Regions from separate parts of the Homo sapiens genome. Here all the other regions are linked to region 3. Evidence: promoter capture Hi-C in human tissues and cell types (Jung and others, 2019). All regions are on one chromosome and are shown on one strand. Each heading gives the region's core, a stretch centred on a gene start or on the middle of the fragment in contact. The rest is flanking DNA. Distances are from core to core; before and after follow the strand shown.

The links. Contacts are between HindIII fragments. The study calls those that stand out against the background at their distance.
Region 1: a contact is called between a fragment that was not itself captured here and the fragment with the promoter of RPL9 in region 3, in 1 of the 25 tissues and cell types used here (dorsolateral prefrontal cortex).
Region 2: a contact is called between a fragment that was not itself captured here and the fragment with the promoter of RPL9 in region 3, in 1 of the 25 tissues and cell types used here (spleen).

Annotation. Positions count from the first base shown.
Region 1 is chr4:40,317,833-40,320,532 of GRCh38, forward strand. All of the region lies in intron 2 of LINC02265 (long intergenic non-protein coding RNA 2265), which reads left to right. Among named protein-coding and RNA genes, the nearest start is that of LINC02265, 12 kb to the left of the region's middle. The HindIII fragment of the contact is 3,787 bases long and covers 1-2,700 here.
Region 2 is chr4:40,183,147-40,185,846 of GRCh38, forward strand. It overlaps a transcript of N4BP2 not described here. Among named protein-coding and RNA genes, the nearest start is that of RHOH, 13 kb to the right of the region's middle. RefSeq lists an enhancer at 2,670-2,700. The HindIII fragment of the contact is 3,872 bases long and covers 1-2,700 here.
Region 3 is chr4:39,457,512-39,460,211 of GRCh38, forward strand. RPL9 (ribosomal protein L9) reads right to left here and starts at 1,411. Exons shown (of 8, transcript NM_000661.5): 1 at 1,380-1,411; 2 at 883-929; 3 at 683-798; 4 at 75-170. The coding sequence starts at 928. It overlaps LIAS (lipoic acid synthetase), which reads left to right and starts at 1,545. Exons shown (of 11, transcript NM_006859.4): 1 at 1,545-1,651. The coding sequence starts at 1,607. RefSeq lists enhancers at 412-1,162, 1,358-1,652, 2,023-2,072 and a silencer at 1,593-1,642. The HindIII fragment of the contact is 10,915 bases long and covers 1-2,700 here.

The DNA.
Region 1 (2,700 bases), core at 41-2,540, 860 kb after region 3:
GCTACTCCGGAGGCTGAGGCAGTAGAATTGCTTGAATCCAGGAGGCGAAGCTTGCAGTGAGCCGAGATCGTGCCACTGCACTCCAGCCTGGATGACAGAGTGAGACTCCATCTCTCACACACACAAAAAACAAAACAAAACAAACAAACAAACAAACAAACAAAAAGACAGACCCCTGGAAGGTAAATGAAGAGAGGGACCAACAGTGACTGCCCCTCCTTCTCTGGCAGCTCTTGAGGGCAGGCCCTTCTCTTTTCATCTTGTACTCCAGGGCTTATCAAAAGGGCTTAGTATAAGTAGACTCCACAGATGCTTGTGGTCTGAATGATATGTGGAGCCCAGTGGGGTAGATAATATTATTCCTTTCACCCATGAGGAAACTGAGGTGCAAAGAAGATTTTTTAAAAATGCCTGAGATCTCTCACTAATAAATGACAGAACAGAAACTCCAGTCCCAAATCCCAAAGGCTTTTTTTCTACCAAGATGCACCCCCACGCCTCCACCATGCACTCCATCTTGCTGGTCCAGTCCGTCAAGTGAGAGCCTCGTTTTTGGTCTCTGCCTCCTATGGATCAGTCCACCCTGGAGGCACAACCTTCTTTCCCTTCTCTGAACTTCTGGTTCAGACCTCTCATTTGGCAGCGAGTCACGCCTTTAAGGAATAGTTGGCAGGGTGCAGTGGCTCACGCCTATAATCCCAGCACTGTGGGAGGCTGATGTGGGCAAATCGCTTGAGCTTAGGAGTTCGGGACTAGCCCGGGCAACATGGTGAAATCCCTGTCTCTACTAAAAATAAAAAAAAAAAGTAGCTGGATGTGGTGGCGGTGCCTGTGGTCCCAGCTCTCTGGAGGCCGAGGTGGGAGGATCGCTTGAGTCCAGGAGGCAGAGGTTGCAATGACCTGAGATTGCACCATTGCACTCCAGTGGGTGACAAAGCAAGACCCTGTCAAAAAAAAAAAAAAAAAGAGTCAGGTGCAGTGGCTCACGCCTGTAATCCCAGCACTTTGGGAGGCCAAGGCAGGTGGATCTCCTGAGGTCAGGAATTTGAGACCAGCCTGGCCAACATGGTGAAACCCCGTCTCTACCAAAAATACAAAAAAATTAGCCGGACCTGGTGGCAGGCGCCTGTAATCCCAGCTACTTGGGAGGCTGAGGCAGGAGAATCTTTTGAACCCGGGAGATGGAGGTTGCAGTGAGCCGAGACTGTGCCATTGAACTCCAGCCTGGGGAACAAGAGTGAGACTTCTCTCAAAAAAAAAAAAAAAATAGTCTTCTTGCTTGCATTACTTATTTAACTTTTATTGTTATTCAGCTTTTCTTAGAAATTTGTCTTTTTCCTCTAAATATTCCATAATCACCTTGAAGGATGAGATGATGTGTAGTTAATTCTTGTGAACTCTCTGCCCAGCATTCAGTAAATATTTGCAGTATGAGTGGATTTTGCAGCACTATTCTGATCAAAACTCACCTCTCAGTGCCTGTTTCTACTGGGAAACTAGGAAATATTTTTTTTGTTTTGTTTTGTGTTGTTTGAGACAGAGTCTCGCTCTGTCACCCAGGCTGGAGTGCAGTGGCCAGATCTTGGCTCACTGCAACTTCTGCATCCCGGGTTCAAGCGATTTTCCTGCCTCAGCTTCCCAAGTAGCCGGGACTACAGGCGCCCACCACCATGCCAGGCTGATGTTTGTATTTTTAGTAGAGATGGGGTTTCACCATTTTGGCCAGGCTGGTCTCGAACTCCTGACCTTGTGATCCACCCACCTTAGCCTCCCAAAGTGCTGGGATTACAGGTGTGAGCCACCATGACCAGCTGGAAGTGGTTTTAATATTTATCTTAAAACATGTATTCTCATCAAAAAGGTGATCCACTCCCCTCTGCTGAGGGGCTTACAACCTAAGTTAAGTTAAATACAGTTCTCTTTTCTCCAGAAGCTTAACTCTTGAGCTTGTACTTATCTTACTTATCTTGGCTATTACTACACTGGATTTAGGTCAAAGGTAGAATTTTTTTTTTTTTTTTGAAACAGAGTCTCACTCTGTCGCCCAGGCTGGACTGCAGTGGTGCGATCTCGGCTCACTGCAACCTCCACCTCCCGGGTTCAAGTGATTCTTTTGCCTCAGCTTCCCGAGAATCTGGGATTATAGGCGCCTGCCACCACGCCCAGCTAATTTTTATATTTTTAGTAGAGGTGGGGTTTTGCCATGTTGGCCAGGCTGGTCTCGAACTCCTGATCTCAAGTGATCTGCCTGCCTCGGCCTCCCAAAGTGCTGGGATTACAGGCATGAGCCTCTGCATCCAGGCTAGGTCAAAGGTGGAATCTAAATTCATTTAGGTCCTTCCATTTTGACTGGAATCTGTCAGCTCCCAAACACAGCACATCCGTTCCGCAACGGGGATCCACTCTGACAAGCTGGGTCACAGTGGGGCTAGTTTCTCTGCCAGGCGCATTTACATCCAAGGTTGTTTCATCTTGCTCTTAAGGCTGCCCTTTAGGGAGCCATGCTTGGCACAGGTGTGTGCACATTAAGGTTAAGACACTCAGCTGCCACCATCCTCTCACCGCGGACACCAGAAGCGTCACTGCCCAGGGAAGGCCAGCCAAGACTGCCTGGGGAATTGTGGCATGGGAGGAGGGTGACTGCCAATCAAGAGATCTCTGTCAGGCCTGGCTCTCACCACTACAATCATGTATTTCATG
Region 2 (2,700 bases), core at 25-2,524, 730 kb after region 3:
AAGTCCTGTTTCTCTTTTTGCACGTAACCTTGTATCATGAGCATCTCCTTATGTGGTCACATGATCTTCCCAAATACTATTTTCAAATGACCGTGTGTAACATCCCAGTAAGATAATCTACCAATCATTTCTATACAGTATTCTACATTTTTGGCCATTTAGGTTGGGTATTGGCTAAACTACTTTTTACATTTTTTTTTTTTTTTTGAGACGGCGTCTGGCTCTGTCGCCCAGGCTGGAGTGCAGTGGCGCGATCTCTGCTCACTGCAAGCTCCGCCTCCCGGGTTTACGCCATTCTCCTGCCTCAGCCTCCCGAGTAGCTGGGACTACAGGAGCCCGCTACCGTGCCCAGCTAATTTTTTTGTATTTTTAGTAGAGACGGGGTTTCACCATGTTAGCCAGGATGGTCTCGACCTTCTGACCTCGTGATCCGCCCGCCTCGGCCTCCCAAAGTGCCGGGATTACAGGCGTGAGCCACTGCGACCGGCCTACTTTTTACATTTTATAAGAGGTTGGTAGCTTCAACGTCATAAGCTTTTTGTTATTTGTTACTATATCATTAGAAGACAGTCAAGTATTAGAGTAATGAACTGTGGCTTAGGTAAGACATTTATCTCACATAATAAAAAGTAAGAGGTGGTAAGTGAGTCAACAATGCCAGGCTTCTGCTGTGTCTCTCTGCAGTTTTTTGGGTTTCTTTGCTTGTCCTCAGGGCTGCTGCAACCTTCAAGGCATCTAATTCTCCACGGCTACACCCAAAGCATGTAAGGAAGACGGGTGCTCCTGCCCGTGTCTACTTTAACTGGTGAGGAGGACCTCTCCCAGGAGCAAGCAAGACTTTCCCGAACATTTCGTTGATGAGGACTGGGTCACACAGCCACTCATAGCTGCAGGGGAAGCTGAGAAGCAGGAATCAGAAGATTCTTTTTCAGTCTTAGACATCATGATTCACCCCCTGGAACAGAACATTTTGTCCATCTCAAAATAGAGGTTCTTTAGCAAGGAAGAAGACATGACTATCGGGCAGGTAGTCATCTATGTTAAACGTGGGACTTACTGTGGAGACAAAGAAAACCACAAAAATGGTTTTCAGATTAAGTTCTCAGAAGCTTCCCTGTATGGCTGCACGGGCTAGAATGGAGAAACAGGCCCTCAAAATGCAGCACTGGACTTCACATTATTTTTTTTTCTTTACAATGAAACTTCATCTGCCTTTTTTTTTTTAAATAAAAAATTCCCAGCAAAGCAAAAAACTGAAGTGAAACCAAATACATTAGAGAATCACTGAAGAGAATAAACTATATGAGTACAGCTCTTTATTAAAAATAGATTGTAATGTTTATTTTTCTGATTATAGAGTTAATCCTTACTGATCATTAAAAATCTGCAGAGTACAAAAAATTAAAGAAAAAAGTGAAAAAATTATCTCCAATTTTACCATTCAGAGACAGTCACTATTACTATCGGGTCTAATTATTTGTTGCCTTTCAGACGTGAAAAATTTTTTTCATATTAAATTGAGATTTGGGCTGGGCATGGTGGCTCATGCCTGTAATCCCAGCACTTTGGGAGGCCGAGGCAGGTGGATCATCAAAGATCAGGAGTTCGAGACTAGCCTGGCCAACATGGAGAAACCCCATCTCTACTGAAAACACAAAAATTATCTGGGCGTGGTGGCACACATTTGTAATCCCAGCTGCTCGGGAGGCTGAGGCGTAAGAATCGCTTGAACCTGGGAGGCGGAGGTTGCAGTGAGCCGACATTGCGCCACTGCACTCCAGCCTGGGCAACAGAGCAAGACTCTGTCTCAAAAAATAAATAAATAAATAAATAAATAAAATAAAAAATAAATTGGGATTTTACTGTACAGATAGTTTAATTTTATAGCTTACTCTTTGTAATAATAAATCCATGTCCCTTTAAAAATAACAGTTTTTCTCTATTTTTTTCAGGTCTCCCTTCCATTCGACGTGTGCCTCTTGTTGTCCTGTAATGAATTAATTTGAAAAGTAATTTGTCTTCTGTAAGGGGAAATGCTGTAGAAGTAAATTGATTCAGGGAGTCCCCTTACTCATTGGCTGTGTGGCCTTATGTAAGTTGCTTAACCTTTCTGAACTTCACTTTTCTCATTTACAAAGTGAAGATGTTGCTAATAATAGCAATAGTGGTTTTTGCTGTTTTATGGTTTTCTTGTGATAAATGATAATATAAAAGGCTATTGTAAATTGAATTTGAAAGAAAAAAATTTAAAGTTAAAAGAAAACTTAGTAATGTGAATACCCTTTCAAAGTATTTTTAGAAATCTCATTATTGTATATTTAGAAGATTAAAAGACAAGAATTAGAGAACAAAAACAATTTTATTTTCTATTTTGAATAATAAATACTATAGAGATAGGTTTGCTCAAAATTGTAAAGCTTGTTTTGTTTTTGGTAAACATTTGAGAACTTAAACTTATTATTTGGAAAAAAACATTTTAATAGAAATTTTACTTTTTAAAAGGTTTATGTGGTTTTTAAAAAAAGCAAAAAACATTTGTTTATGACTAATCTTGAAATTTTATATGTAATTTAAAATGCCATGTAAGCAGGAAGGTACTCATTTAGGAGAAATTACAAAACTACTTCCTTTTCTTTTAAATGATTAAAAAAATGCACAGCTACAATAATTTAGGTAATAATAATAATAATGAGAACGCAG
Region 3 (2,700 bases), core at 161-2,660:
CACTTACGCTGTATAAAGCACAGGTTTGAGAAACCTCCCTTTCCAAAACAAGGAAGTCTGATACATCTGCTTACCAGTGTAACACCCTTGATCATGTTCTGTACATGACTACAAATAGTCCGAACGGTAGCCAGTTCCTTTCTGTTACCCCACCATTTGTCAACCCGGAGCTGTAACAGAACAAAAAATGTATTCTTTCCAGAAATATGCAGGCTTAAAAGACAACAGACCACTTACCGAATTACTTTAAGATTCTAGAATTAACCCTTATCAAAGCACATGGTTTTCAACTGGAAAAATCCAACCACCTATAAAACCTCCCAACAGTTAAGCTTTGTAGAAGTTGCAACAAACTTCCCTTCTGGAAAATTAAATCATCAGGTTTAAATGACCTACTGCCGGTTCCTGTGATTTTTACAAAGCAATCACTAGGAAAATAAACCAAACTTCTAACACCATTAAGACGTGTCACTGATGACCACTATTACATTTGAGCTTTATATAATTGGCTGTGTTCAGAATCTGGTTTTTCAATTTCACTGAACAGGCTGGTATTCTGGACAGCAACATTTAAAGCTGAAGCACTGAACCTTAATTCGAAAATTGTTAAAGCAACCAAATGTGATGCTGTTATAAACCACCTTCCAACGAGCAACTGAATTATCAGAAGAAAAACCCTCACCCTCTTTTTTTTCTTTCCAAGAAGGCTGAGTTCTACATTGATGTGATTGAAGTCCCTCCGCAGGGTTCCTCTGGGGCCCTTCACGATAACTGTGCGTCCCTTCAGAGTAATGTCGACTAGAAGAGAGAACACACTCGTCAGGCCACACAACGCTTGGAACGTGCAGTAAAGATGTAAGTAAAAGACATCAAGTCTCATACCATTTTCTGGAATGTCGACAGTCTGATTGCTGAGAATAGTCTTCATTCTGAAACACAAACACTGGGGGTGAGGCCGACGCAAGGCCCGTTTTTCCACCAAACTACGCCGCACAGAGCTCCACTCCTACTGGAGACTGCCAGGCGGAAGTTCCAGACAAGATGTCGGAGGACGGGAGACCGACAGCGGGCCCCAGTGTGTCCCAGCCTGGAAGGAGCAGCCCCAAAGCGAGAATTACGAGGCCCAGCAGTCGAACTCCCACTCAGCCCAACCCTGGAAGTCCTATGCGGGCGGTGCCATCCCGGCAAGACTGAGGGGCGGGAATAGGCCAAAAAGCCCACAACAGGATTCGCATCTGGCGCCGCCAGGCTCATATGGCGCTTGCCGAGCTGGGGGACAAACAGGACAAGGTTCCGAGAGTGGGAGCCGCGCCGCAGCCTTTCCCAGAGCAGATGGTTTCAGATTCCCAGTACCCCCACGAGCACAGAAACATCCTTACCTCGCAGTAGACGCAGCAAAGAAAGAACGTCTGTCGTCATTACGTACTTGTATCGCGTAAGGGGCCTGCGTATTGCGTCATGAGTGCGCGACGCACGTAAGGCTAAAGCAGCCAATCGTGGAGCAGCTTGGCTGCTTGTCATAAATGGAGCGACGTAATTTCGACCTGTCCTTTCCCGGGAGTTAGCGATCCCTCAACCCCTGCACTGCGCTAGTCCTAAAGAGGAAATGTCTCTACGCTGCGGGGATGCAGCCCGCACCCTGGGGCCCCGGGTGAGCGGCGGGGCGAACGGGTTTGGGCGTGGGGTGGGGGGATCCTATCCCTTCAGAGCGCCCATGCCCAATAATAAAGGCCAGTGCATTTACTGAACATTTACTACTAGCCAACGGCAGTTTTAAACGTTTTTCGTGTAATCTCATGTAATTATCCCGCCAGCCCCATGATATAGAGTCTCTGGCATCAGTTTGTTTGCAAGTCTCTCTGGGCCAGCACCGAGGACTTATTTTCTGCTTAGAGTGGTTTGTACCCTATATTTATGGAGCACTGCAGTGAGCACCCCACATAGCTATTCTGTCTTGGACTCTTACTGTGTGTGAGACACCACTCTAGCCGCAGAGAACACAAACCTGTCCGCTAGGCTTCAGCGGCAGACATTGAGAAGTGCAGTAGCAATCGTGCAACACCCTAACAGGCACTCTTTGAGTTGTCGAAGGTTCTTTTGAGATACATGTGCAGACTCGTGGATTTTGTAGTGTTTTGGCTATCTCATACACGTTTGTGTTCAGATGTAAAAGCCGAATACCATGATTTCTTATGTTCTTGACTGCCACGTTCAAACACAGAAACAATGTAACCTAGAAAGTAAAAACGTTCATCCTGGCCAACATGGTGAAACCCCGCCTCTATTAAAAATACAAAAATTAGCTGAGCGTGGTGGCGTGCGCCTGTAGTCCCAGCTACTCGCCAGGCTGAGGCAGGAGAATCGCTTGAACCCGCGAGGCGGAGGTTGCAGTGAGCCGAGATCGCGCAACTGCACTCCAACCTGGGCGACAGAGCGAGACTCCATCTCAAAAAAAAAAAAAGAAAAAGAAAGTAAAAACGTTAGGCTTGGTTTTAACCTTCCAGTTGTCTGAAACTAATTGGGCATTATTAACCTACGTTTCAACAATTATTCAAAGCTCGAGAGATTTATTGCACACTTCACTTTAAACGCCCCTGATTCAAGTCAGGACCAGAACAGTTTTAAACTGTGGCACCTTCTTCAGTTATTGCAGTTCAATCTTGTTGAAAGACAAACATCTAGTTCCTGGTAGGTGGAGTA